Linked DNA regions of Homo sapiens: region 2 is linked to region 1. Evidence: promoter capture Hi-C in human tissues and cell types (Jung and others, 2019). All regions are on one chromosome and are shown on one strand. The core of a region is centred on a gene start or on the middle of the fragment in contact, and the rest is flanking DNA. Distances in the headings are between cores, read along the strand shown. Region 1 holds the start of CADPS2 (calcium dependent secretion activator 2). Region 2 overlaps CADPS2 (calcium dependent secretion activator 2).

Region 1 (6,577 bases), core at 1,451-3,950:
GGCCTCAGGAAACTTACAGTCATGGCAGAAAGCAAAGGAGAACCAGACACCTTCTTCAGAAGGCAGCAAGAGAGAGAGAGAGAGAGAGATGGGGAAACTGCCACTTTTAAACCATAAACGTCTCGTGAGAATGCCCTCACTATCATAGAACAGCAGGGGGGAACTGCCCCCCATGATTTAATCACCTCCCACCAAGTCCCTCCCTCCACATGTGGGGATTACAATTAGAGATGAGATTTGGGTGGGGATATAGAGTCAAACCATATCACTTACTATCTTCTGAATGAAGTGTTTCTTCTCTGTATTGCCATTATCTTCCAGGTTATTGGAACACTCATCAGATTGCAATCCAAATATTGATTATTTTAAATAAATGTTTTTTTCATTTGTCATTCCTTAACTGATAAACTTCTTACGGCCTATATCTTGTTTTCCTAAATATATCCAGTATAGCTTTAGCATATGTTAGTTTCTTAATCAATGTATGTTTAATGATGCTTAAACATTCTCTTTGTTGTCTTTTAGATATTTCTTTAATTTATGCCTCTTAAGTCATCTTCATCTTCATGGAGAAAACACTGTATATTCTGCTCTAAAAATTATTAGATGTTTTCCTGTGGGATCCTCAAGGCTTGGAGATCTTTGACTTAATAACCACCTTTAATGGGAAAAGAATAAGTGATCACATCAAGTAATATTGATTAATAAAAGGAACTGAAAAATATACCTATTGTTGGCAAGAAAAGGGCAGTAAAGTTGCTATATTTAAATCATACATTTATGTCCCTAGAAATTTTTATTAGTTTAGTAAACCTCATACATTTATTATACTGTCTTATTATCAAGGCAAATTGCAGTAGAAAATGACACTATTTGGAACTAGAAAACTGTTTTGAGTCCTTATTCCATTAGGTGCTAGTTCTGTACCCTAAGGAAAGGATTCTTCAACTCTCAGGTTCCTTATTTGAACAATGGAACCTAAAATAAATGAGATAATGTATGTAAAGAGCTTAGTGCAGTATCTGGTTCAAAGGGCAATCAATAATAATACTACCTGCCTCAGAAAGCTATTACTTTGATGAGGGTATTAAACAATTTCACAGATCTTTGCAAAGTGCTAGATAAGCATCAGCTATTATGACAAGATTGCTATTTGTTTGCCTTGCCAAAAATAAAACATTGCCTTTAAATACATAGGTGTTTGAGATTTTCTATTTCTTGGCAGTTTGTGATCATCCCACAGCCATGCTCTTACTGAAGACCTTTTATTACTAGGGGGCCTGTTATGGATTAGGCAGAAAAATAGGTAAGACTCCTCAGGAGTAAATGCCTCCTTGTCTTTTACCCATCTAGAGAGAATGTCAGTAAGTGCAGAAGTCTCTCTTGTGTACCTAACTATATGAAAGTGGCCTGAAAAAGCTAAAACTGCTGTTTGACCATGGTGGTAGAGGAGCTCAGAGCTGGTAGTTAATTTGCCCTGTGTTATTTCCACTGAACTTCATCACCTCCCTGCCCACCTGGTCGCTGCACACTCCACCTGGTGTTGAATGCATTGTTTTGCCTATTTCCCCCTCTGTCAGGACTTAGGACATAAGATACAGAATTACTATAAGAAACTCCTAGGTGGTTCCAGCACTAGGACTGAGAAATCTGCGCAGATAAGGCAGGCTTCAGCGCAGCTACAAGACGCCGACTTGAGGCCAGAACCACCAGCGACTGAGTGTCATGTGCCTTAGTCACCGCGGGCTCCGCAAAAGGCTAACAGTGCTGGACACCGGGAGGGCGCTCAAATCTTTGTTGAATAAATGTCCACACTACACAACCTGTTTTGAGTCAACTGCATCCCAACCCAGAAAATAATCGAGATATGTTTGAGCTGAATCAGTATCATTTTGCACATATAAAATCTCTCTTGCCTTGAGTCTGCAGGACTAGAACAGTTTAAAAAGTAAGCCTCGTTGGTTTTCTTTTTTTTTTCATTACTCCGACTTTTATAATTTGGGCTTCAGCATGAGTATCAAAACGGCAGCAGAGCAGAGTGAGACTTTTCAAAGTCTTGTCGCAAAGATACTTCGTGGTGAAGGGCTCCAGTCCCGCTTTTCCGCGCTGGGGTTCAATCCTAGGCAGCCGATTCGGGTTGGGGAGATGTCTCGGCCGCTCCCCCTAACCTCTTGCTAGGGAACAGTCCCTCCCCGCTCCCCATTCCACCTCCACCTGCTGGAGAAAAGATCACAGGTGGTAGGGTGAGGGTAGTCGGAGCAGCCCCGGTGGACGCTTACACGGGCCATCGCGCTCGGCCGCTCCCCGCCTTTGCAAACTGTGTGCTAGGGCTCCAGGCGGGCCCGGGCAGCAGCGGCGGCGCGCGCACGCGCACTCCGCGGCCCCGCGCGGCTCTTCAACATTCAATTCCACGTGTTGCTTGTTGTAGGCGCCACAGGTTCCCCACCTGCGTCCGGGCGCTCGGGCGGCTCCGCCTCTGCCGGCGGGCTCTGGGGAACCGCTGGGTCGGCGCGCCCGGGGCTGGCGGAGCAATTCCTGAGGCGCCCAAGCTCACCCCCAACGCTAACTCCGCCTATTCAGTCCCGGCGGCTCCCCCTCTCCCCCCTCCCAATCCTCCTCCCGGCTCCTGCCCGCCCCTTTCGCCCTGGTGGTAGGAAACACTCCTGAATCTAACTCGACGTGTCCGGAAAGCCCTGGCCAGTTTTCCTTTCGTTCTGCGGCCGCTGCAGCCAGCCCCGCGGCTCCCTCAGACCCGCGGGCGCAGCCGCCGGGGGTGAGGCGCTTGGGGACCGCGGGCCGAGCGGCGGGGATCCCCGAGCACCATGCTGGACCCGTCTTCCAGCGAAGAGGAGTCGGACGAGGGGCTGGAAGAGGAAAGCCGCGATGTGCTGGTGGCAGCCGGCAGCTCGCAGCGAGCTCCTCCAGCCCCGACTCGGGAAGGGCGGCGGGACGCGCCGGGGCGCGCGGGCGGCGGCGGCGCGGCCAGATCTGTGAGCCCGAGCCCCTCTGTGCTCAGCGAGGGGCGAGACGAGCCCCAGCGGCAGCTGGACGATGAGCAGGAGCGGAGGATCCGCCTGCAGCTCTACGTCTTCGTCGTGAGGTGCATCGCGTACCCCTTCAACGCCAAGCAGCCCACCGACATGGCCCGGAGGCAGCAGAAGGTGAGTTGCGGGACCGGGCGCCTCCTACCACCACTTCTCCCTGGGTTTTTCTCCCGGGAGAGCTCTGGGACGCCTCCCGTCCTTCTGCGAAACGCAGGACACCGTATTTTTGTTAGTCTCTGAGGGCAGAGGAATCTTTGGGGACAAGACGGTGCTTTCACCCGCCGGGTATGCGGCTGCAGCGGACACCTCTTCTCCTCCTCCCCGCCTGGGCTGGCAGGAGCTGTCAGCTCACCATCCGTGAGACAGAGACCGACAGCGCCGGCCGCGCCGCGGTTGCACCCGGCAGGCGCAGCTCTGGCCGGATTAGAATGCAACTCCCATCAACTTTAATTTCCAACAGCACTGGTGCATTCCTGTCCACCTAGCCTGGCGTGATATTGCTAGAGCTGGGTTTGCCGAGGGTCTGAATGAGTGTTGTAGCTAGGCGAAACAGGTGGAGCCCGAGTACTTCTCTTAGCTAGAGTGAAGTCTTCACTTAAGAGGGGTAGAAATTTTCCTCAGTGAATAAAAAAGTTAAATTAATACGTTTCCTATATTGTCATACAACCAGGACATCAAATCCAAACACCGAGAAGGCATGCAGCTTTGTAAAGTGTTTGTGGGTAAGTAATTTCTGGTCTGGGCAGGCCTGATTAATGAAATATACTATTACTGATGAAAGATAAAGGATTGGTGCATGATCACTTCATAACAAATGCTTTCCAAATGCTTTTTTGGGGAACAAAATGCTTATTCTCCCCCAAAAGGTAAGAAGTTTGTTTCAGGTGAAAGGCTGGCCAACTTGAGTTTCAAAACAAGACCCCAGGGGCCTGATGTTCTGTACCAGACACGAGTAATGACTCAAATTGTCCTAAGTGGTTAAATGTTTACAATACAAACTCTAGGAAATCTTTTTAATAGAATGCTGAACCTGGAAGGTTCTGTAGAAATCGGTAACAGTTCCCTCAGTTTGTGACAAGACCTAGAGATCCAGAGAGATTGTAGTCTGCTCAAGGCATACCTACATGCACAGACATTTATTAGTTTTCTGAAATATTAACTTCAGTGTGTGAGGCATTTTTAGAAATTTGGAGAGGTTTTGAGTTGACTTCAACTATAACTGTAGTTCAGAGTAAATTCAGTCTCCCTACATTCTCCTACCCCCATTTAGATAACCTTTATTTTTTGAGGTATAATTGACATGTAAAAAGCTGTGCATACCACTCCACCCTAACTATTGGTGGTTTCATAGGTGTATAAGTATCATGGGGATAAGTACACACCTATAGTTAACACTATTGTATGCTTAAGATCTATCCTCTTAGAAAAAAATTTTAAGTGGTCTTACCCAACTTTTTAAAACACACACAAACTGAGCAACTATTTTGGAATCATTTATTCTCTGGGAATCCTTATGGAATATTTCCTTACAGCTGGAGATTAATAACAGATCCTTCAGGTAACCTAACCCTAGGTATTCAGTCACAGAATGGTAGGGAGACTCCTCATGTTGGAGAAGAGAAATAGGTCATAATAGCATTTCCCAATCCCAAACAAATTGGCACAGTTAAAACCACCATTACTCAGGTAAGTTTTGAATGCCCCGCGGTGTTTTTATGAGCCTGCTGCTCCACTCCTGTATGAATCCCATACTTCCTAATCAGCTGCTCTAATTGAGTCTGTTCTGAGGCAGTCACCCGTGGCCTCTTCTCAATTCTAGTCAAGCGACTGTCAGCTTCAATAGTCATTGTTAAAACTATTTTTTGTATATGTTGTGGTATGAGTTCATATCATCCAGTCTCTAGTTTTACCATTCATATTGCATTTAAGCCTATTTTTAATGATTAAAGTGTAAAAATAATGTTTGGTAAAATTAAGAGACTATTTTCTCCTTGGAATATTATCCTTGAAGATGCTTTTGCAAATTTACTATGAGTTGATTTATACTGTGAATACTTGTTGCATTTTGTTAATGAAGTGGACCCTCCCTTAGCTGTTCAAATAGTGCATTTTTCTCTGACTCCTTCTGTTTAAATATTTGTTCAAAATTATTTGAATTGGCAAGCAGGTGCATTCACAATACTACTGGGGAGACTATTGTTATAACCTTATCCAGGCATTACCAAAGATAATTTCAAACTACAAAAAAAGCAAAATACAACATATATTCTATGAAAAAAAATAGAATCCTTAGGAATTTCCACATTCTAAATGCTTAGAGCATTGAGCACAGGTTAACTTTTGTGAATTACTTTTATTTTTTATTAAGATGGATGCCAAATAGCCTAAGTATTTACTTTACTCAACCCTCCCCCACCTTTTAAAAAATGTGCTGCTTACTAAAGGGAGCTGGAGCAACTTTTGGCAGTCTGGTTTCCTCTTAGGGCAAAATGAAATGGGAATTTAACTATGTTTATGTGAATTTGATGCACAAGCTAATAAGTAATGCCAAAACTTACTTGAAGTCTTGCATTATACAGTTAGATTATCTAAAAGAAGTAACAAGGTAATTGCAAAATCACTAATCCGTTGTTTATTTTATTCTGTATCTTCAAGTAGTCAGGCATCCAGTAAAAAGATTTAATAGCTGAAATTGTTGTCATTGAAATGAATATTGCTGCTTACTCACTTCTCTCAACTTCAAGAATTTAGAGACCCAGAAATTGAGATCTGAAAGGGTCCTCATTTTATGAAGAAAATTAATCACAAAGATAAGATCTTTACCCAGGAGGCCAGGAGTCAGGTTTCTCTTTAGTCAAAGCCCGTTCACTATTAGAGCTGGTGAGTTTCTATGAACCAGAACTGAGCAGCAGTGTTATTTATTTATTTTTTTCACTTGGCTAAAATGGTCCACAAAGTTAGTAAGAGGTTGTGTCTATGAGCTATTTGAGAAAGCTTAGTAGCATTAAACACAGTTAACGAACACATGAATTTCTTTGCTTTTGTCTAGACTATTTCAATTTTGAGGAATAATAGTGGTCAGTTTATGACATTCAAGCCCTCTGATTGACCACTGATGGTTTTACAGAAAATTCTGGGGGTGCATATGGGCTACACACTGTGACAGAGTGCCTTTCCAGGTGCTACACCTCCTAAATGAACATATCCAGGGGTTCACACATGATATGAGTATGAACTAATAAACAGTGATTGAAAGTGATGTCAGTAGTGATAGTGCTTGAGCCTCTAATGCTGATTTACCCTGATTACCTTTGCACCACCCCAGTGCTAACAATGATGATTAACTTTGGATGGTTCTAGATCTTCAGTTAAAGGTAGAGTCAGTGTTGAAACTAGAAAAACAATAATACAAATCAGGTACTAATTAATAAAGGCAATTTGTTAGACTTATGAAAAACATTGAGACCTCGGAGGAGAAAGTAAAAAAAAAAAAAAAAAGGGTTCCTTGGTGGTTTGAAAGTTAGAGAGATCCT
Region 2 (6,577 bases), core at 1,078-3,577, 520 kb after region 1:
CACACCTGAACCCTTGAGTATTTATATGCTGGGCACATTGCATATGGCGTATCACTTAATTCTTACAGTTCTGTAGCATGATGGGTAAAGAGCATGGGCTTTGGATCAAGACCACCTGTGTTTAAAGCCTTCCTCCTTCTGCCGTCTGCCAAATAACCTTGAAACAGGCGGAATCCCAGTGGTTTTCTGACTTAAAGCCTCAGCTCTATTCTACCTCCATAGAAGCCCCATAGATTTAATTGAATTAGACCCATTAGCTTAAGGACCAAACTCATTCCTCTTTGTCACTAAGTAATTCTAAGGCAGCCCCCATTAACTTGTGACTTAATGTATTCAGGTTTTTAGACACAGATAGTGATTTTGCTAATCATATGGATAATATTAATTCTTTACATTTCTTTAGTGTTTGGCCATTTTCACAGTTCTTTCACATAAATTACCTCCACTGATCTTCAGACCATTCTTGTAAGGTGGGCGGGATAGCTGTCCTTTTCCCCACTTTACTGAGAAGTACAATGAAGAGAGAGAAGCAAAATGACTTGACATTTATCTCGTAGCCAGACAGCGGCAGAGCTGCAACTTGAGCCAAGAAGTAAATTCATCAACAGGCTCCCTGCCTCTATCTTGCTTTGTCCCTCAGCAAATTCATCAACAGGCTTCCTGCCTCTATCTTGCTTTGTCCCTCAGCAAATTCATCAACAGGCTTCCTGCCTCTATCTTGCTTTGTCCCTCAGCAACACACATGTGTGTATGCACAGACTCACTAGCAAGCACCAAGAATCAGGTGCTGGGCTACAGCCTCCATGGTTCAAGCTGTCTAGTAACCATAGCAATTGCCGCTGTCCTCGTGGCAAATGAGATCACCCAGTACACACTTGCTCCAAGATTTGAGTTACAAGAGATGAGGCATTTTCCACAGAGGGCCATTAAGTTTGGAATTCCCTTTCCCTGGTCTGACATAACCCTAGAGTATTCATCTTCTGGGTCCTTGCAAACTACATCAAGTTGAGTTAGCCAGTCATGATTGGTAAGAAATCCTAACAGGCAGGAAGAAAGTGCTAAATTAACTTCTACATGTGAGCAATTCGCAATTTTGTGGGTGGATTTTTTTTCCCTAGGCATCCTTTAGGATAGCTACCCAAGCATACGTTATTCTCATTCTTTAAAAATGCACTTATAGTTCACAGTCAGTCTGCATGGTTTTGTTTCTGTGTTCTTACATCATGTCGCAAATGATGTGATGGAGAAACCTATAGGGAAGTTTTTGTTTCTTTTGCATAAACTATTTTGTAGTAATTGATCAGCCATAAAGAAAAGATTATCTCCTATGCACTCACAGCGAGTTCTCTGGTCACCAGAGACCAATAAGCTGTGTCCCTAGAACTATTATCACTTTGTTGAAGAAGCTGCTATGTGAACAAAAACCAGTCTTCGTTAATTTCCCTTTTCCTATTGAAAAAACCTTGTCAGCATTTTCCCTTTGGGAATCTATAATGTGTCAATAGTTCATATTATTTTAGTTCTAAGGAGGAGAGATGTAGGGCAGTATGTCATTCTTAAGATCTCTTATTCATCGATTTTCATGCTAAATAAAGTAAAATGCTTCACATTTTTACTGTATTATAGTGTATGTGTTTTTTTATTTCATAGAAATATAAAGTTTTAGAAATGTAAACCACTTTTGAGACTAATTTGAATTCCACATCCTACCCCCCTCACCCTAGTCCATTTAACTGATGGAGGAAGCCTGAGAAGTAAGGTGGTCAAACTGAGCTTGCATTCTACTGAGTGATGGAATTGGGATATACATTCTGAGTCCAGTGCTCTTTTCCATTGTACTCTGCAGTGTGTATCTGTTTTCTCTCCATAACTGCTACGTAAGCTTTGGGAAGCAGGGATGATCCTTATATGTGCCAATTAGAACTGCCTGGTAAATGCTTGTTAACTAATGTCAGCCATTGTGTCATAGTTACAAGAGCTCATATGTTACACCACCTCCCTTTCATTATCTGTTCATTTTTTTTGTTTGTTTGTTTTTTGGTTTTTTGTTTTTGTTTTTGTTTTTCTTTTTTAAGGCAGAGTTTTGCTCTTGTCACCCAGGCTGGAGAGCAATGGCATGATCTCAGCTCACCACAACCTCTGCCTCCCAGGCAATTCTCCTGCCTCAGCCTCCCGAGTAGCTAAGATTACAGATATGAGCCACCATGCCCTGCTGATTTTGTACTTTTAGTAGAGACGGGGTTTCTCCATGTTGGTTAGGCTGGTCTCGAACTCCTGACCTCAGGCGATCCGCCCACCTTGGCCTCCCAAGGTGCTGGAATTACAGGCATGAGCCACCCTGCCTGGCCCATTATCTGTTCTTTTATATTCAACCTCCTGTGTAGATGTAGAAAAAGTTGAAGGATGGCAAGTAATATAAAATAGAAAGGAATCTGATTAAGCTTGCCTGCCATTGTTTCTTAACATCCACATTGAAGTTGAAAAATGTTTTAAGGAAAAATCTCATGGACCTAAGATTGTTTATGAATGGCTTCAGTGGTCTCATATGTATAGTGACTAGATTCCTATGACACATTATCTTTTATTTTTTTAAAAATTGTGTATTATTGGCCAGACACGGTGGCTCACACCTGTAATCCCAGTACTTTGGGAGGCCAAGGCGGGTGGATCACAAGGTCAGGAGTTTGAGACCAGCCTGGCCAATATGGTAAAACCCCGTCTCTACTAAAAATACAAAAATTAGCCAGGTGTGGTGGCGGACGCCTGTAGTTCCAGCTACTCGGGAGGCTGAGGCAGGAGAATAGTTTGAACTCGGGAGGTGGAGGTTGCAGTGAGCCAAGATCACGCCACTGCACTCCAGCCTGGGTGACAGAGCAAGCCTCCATCTCATTTTAAAAAAAAAAAAAAAAAAAAAAGTGTATTATTTCCAGCCATGGGAAAGAAAAGGACAGTAGAGTTCATGTTCAGAATGAAAGAGTAAACATCACAAGTTAGTCTGACCTCAGCTGTCAGTTCATTCATTGTGAATTTTTGTGCGATGGAAGAAATTGATTCAGGAATTGTTTGTCCTGCTATTAGTTTGTATGCATAGTAACATTCTAAATACTCACTATAACTGTATTATAGTTTGTTTCAGTGTTGGAAGGCGTGTTGTCTAAGCTGTCAAGGTATGATGAAGGCACTTTCTTTTCATCCATTCTGTCATTCACTGTAAGTATTTGAATGAGTTCTCTTCTGTGGTCTTTTAACTGTTGTCATAGTACTTATATGGCAGTTAAAAAAATAATTCTCATGATTATCTCTTTCTTTCACACTTAAGGTGAAAGCAGCTGCAAAATATGTTGATGTTCCAGTAAGTATTTTTTATCTGCTTTTTAAAACTGTATGGAATTCTTTAAAAAAAAATTGCAGTTCATCATGGGTTTATTTCAAATCTTTAAACCAGTGCCATTCCCTTAGGGAGTAGTTTATTTTCCTTAAGCAAGCACTAACCTTCATAACAAGACATAGCAAGGTTATTTCGTTGACTTTTTCTGTTGTAACTCAGAAACTCTTAAGGAGATCAGTTCATCATAAGAACATATCACCTGAGTTGCAGAGGGAAGTTATAGCACTCTAGGATGGGGTAGAAAAATGCCTCACACTATTTATAGAAAAACTGCTCGCTTTTCCTCCCCTTTCTATGAAAGCTGTAATGGGTTTCTTATAGAAGGTAGAATAATGATAAAGATGAACCAGTTAAAGAATTAGTTTTCTAAATACACAAGTGTTATATAAATCAGTAGTTACTTATTTTAACATTTGTTGTTTCATAGAATTCTTGGGAAATAACTCATAAATTTGTTCCAAAATTTAGATTCCATGAGCAGAAATCATGAAACTGACTTAGCTACAATGAGAACGTTCACATGGTAAACATAACCAACAAGTTGTGCAGCATTTTTAAGCTAATCATCATACCAAATTAGTTTTTGATTTAAATTCTATTATCACCTATATGATCAAGGCCTAAGGTGTTCTGTTTAATCATTTATTTTGGCATATATGTCAATTTTCAAAGAATTAGAATTAGAGCACAATGAAAAATAAATTAAGATTTAAGACTAGATGGAATATAAATTCTCTCTTTGTATTTGAAGAACATTATATCTCTACATTGCCATTAGAAATGGTAGCAGTTTTGAGTGCTGGCAAGCTTTATGTATCAGTTGTAGATAGCTCTTATTTTTAGGATGCACCACCACATTTTGTCTCTGGCTTTATTGCTGCTGTAGTTATAAATGAGTATTTTAAATGAGAAGGCCCTGGACTTTTCTACCTTTGCATGGGGTTTCTTTGGAACTGGACTTTTTATTTTACAAATGTTTCCCAAAGAAGTCTTCATACCCTCCTCGTCCTGTACCTAGAATCAAGGAATCAGTGCTGGACCATAAGTAGAAAAAAATCACATATGTAGAGCCCCACAAAGCAGCAGCATGAAAGGGAGAATTAAGGGGAGATTTTATGTTTGATATCTTAAAAAGGAAGGCACAAATAATCTTGTATATATCACATTGGACTTTGTAACACACATAGTTTTTGTTTGATTTTGAATTACAAATGGACTGTGACACCAAAATTATTCATGTTCTTAGAGATTTTGAGGTTTTTAATTGGCCCTATACTAGTTTATTCTCTCCATAGAATTTCAGAGTTGAAGGAGACAGAAAATGGTTCATTTACTTCCCTTCTCAGTGCAAGTAACCCCTCTCTAACATCCCTTACAAAGATTCACTTGGGTGCTGTTTAATTATTTCAGTGGTTACAGGATGACCATATGGCAGCCTACTGTTAAGTATTATGAGTTGAAATTCTGTATCTTTGTGAATTTTACCCATTAATCCTCGTTCTAATCTCTCTTCTGCATGATAGCTCTTTGCATATTTAATGACAATTTTCATGCCTCCTCTTCCCAGGAGGTGTGGTGGCTATTCACAGGCATATGTTGTCTGAGGAACGCTTATTTTCTAGATTAAACATTCTCAATTTATTCACTAAACCCACTACTTAAATATTTATTTAGCACATACTAAGTGCTAGATCCTGGACATACATGATGAGACGTACATTTCTTGCCCTCAAATGGTTCACAATATTAAAGACAAAAGACATAGGGAAACAGACATATCATTATGCACACTTCTATGGCAATCATATCCAGACTCTTCATCATGCCAGTTACTAACCTAGAGGAATTCTAGCTTATCAGTGTCAGCATTAAATCAAGTTGCCCCCTGGAGCAGAACATACTATACCATAGATGTGGTTTGACCATGGCAGATTACAAAGTGATGAATTCCTTCTTCAGTTATGGACATTACACTTCTATTGTTGATGCCTGTGAATATTAACTTTAAAAGCTGTAAGGTCTTGTTGGCCGTTATTCTTTTTTATACTCAAACTCCAGCAAGTATGCCTCTCTGAAGCTGTCTCTTAAGAGAGTCTCATGAGAAAAAGAGCGCTGGCTCACCTTTCACAAAAATTAACTGAAAACAGACCTAGACCCACATACAATGCAGAACTATACAACTTCAAGAAGAAAATATAAGATAAAATATATATGGCCTTGGATTTGGTGATGAGTTTTTAGATACAACCCCACATAATTCATGAAAGAAAAAAAATTGATAAATTGAACTTAAAAATTGATAAGTATACTCTTATTCATTGTTAAGAGAAAGAAAAGCCACAAATGGGAAGAACTATTTACAAAACACATATCTGATAAAGGACTTGTATCCAAAGTGTTCTAAGAACCCTTAATATTCAACAATATGAAAACAACCAAACTTTTTAAATGGGCAAAAGATCCAAACAGGCACTGCAACAAGAAAGATATGCAGATACCAAGTAAGCTTATGAAAAAATGCTCAATATCATTTGTCATTAGGAAAATGCAAATTAAAAGAAGATACCACTATGTACTTGTTAGAATGGCCAAAATCCAAAAACAAACTGGCAACAGCAAAATGTTGACGAGGATAAGAGAGCAACAGGAACTCTCATTCATTGCTGGTAGGAATGCTACAGCTACTTTGGAAAACTGTTTGCCAGTTTCTTTTAAAGCTAAATATAGCCTTACTATGTAACCCACCAATCACAGTTCTCTGCACTTATCCAACTGATTTGAAACATATGTCCACCCCAAAATCTATGCACAAATGTTCATAACAACTTTGTTTATAATCACCCAAACTGGAATCAACCAAAATTGTCCTGTAGTACGTCAATGTATAAATAACCATTGGTACGTCCATACAATGTAATTCTATTCAGCAAAAAGAAAAGAGCTCTCATCTCACATGAAGACATGGATGAATCTTAAATGCATATTGCCAAAAGTAGCCAATTTGAAAAGGCTGCATACTGTATGATTCCATTTATATCACATTCTACAAAAGGCAAAACTATAAAGACTATAAACAGATTAGTGGTTGCCATGAGTTCAAGGTCAGGGAGGGCTGAATTGTTCAAATACAGGGGATTTTTTGGAACACAGCAACTATTCTGTATGATATTGTAATGGTAGATACATGAC

What was found. The method cuts DNA at HindIII sites, captures the fragments that hold promoters and counts their contacts. A contact is called where the count stands out against the background at its distance.
Region 2: a contact is called between a fragment that was not itself captured here and the fragment with the promoter of CADPS2 in region 1, in 2 of the 25 tissues and cell types used here (H1 embryonic stem cells and stomach).

Annotation. Positions count from the first base shown.
Region 1 is chr7:122,882,583-122,889,159 of GRCh38, reverse strand. It overlaps CADPS2 (calcium dependent secretion activator 2), which reads left to right and starts at 2,700. Exons shown (of 30, transcript NM_017954.11): 1 at 2,700-3,161. The coding sequence starts at 2,823. RefSeq lists silencers at 2,293-2,452, 2,463-2,622, 2,693-2,772, 2,783-2,832, 2,873-3,002 and an enhancer at 3,363-3,412. The HindIII fragment of the contact is 17,974 bases long and covers 1-6,577 here.
Region 2 is chr7:122,357,563-122,364,139 of GRCh38, reverse strand. CADPS2 (calcium dependent secretion activator 2) reads left to right here. Exons shown (of 30, transcript NM_017954.11): 26 at 3,127-3,210; 27 at 3,320-3,352. Among named protein-coding and RNA genes, the nearest start is that of FEZF1, 56 kb to the right of the region's middle. The HindIII fragment of the contact is 5,436 bases long and covers 1-5,045 here.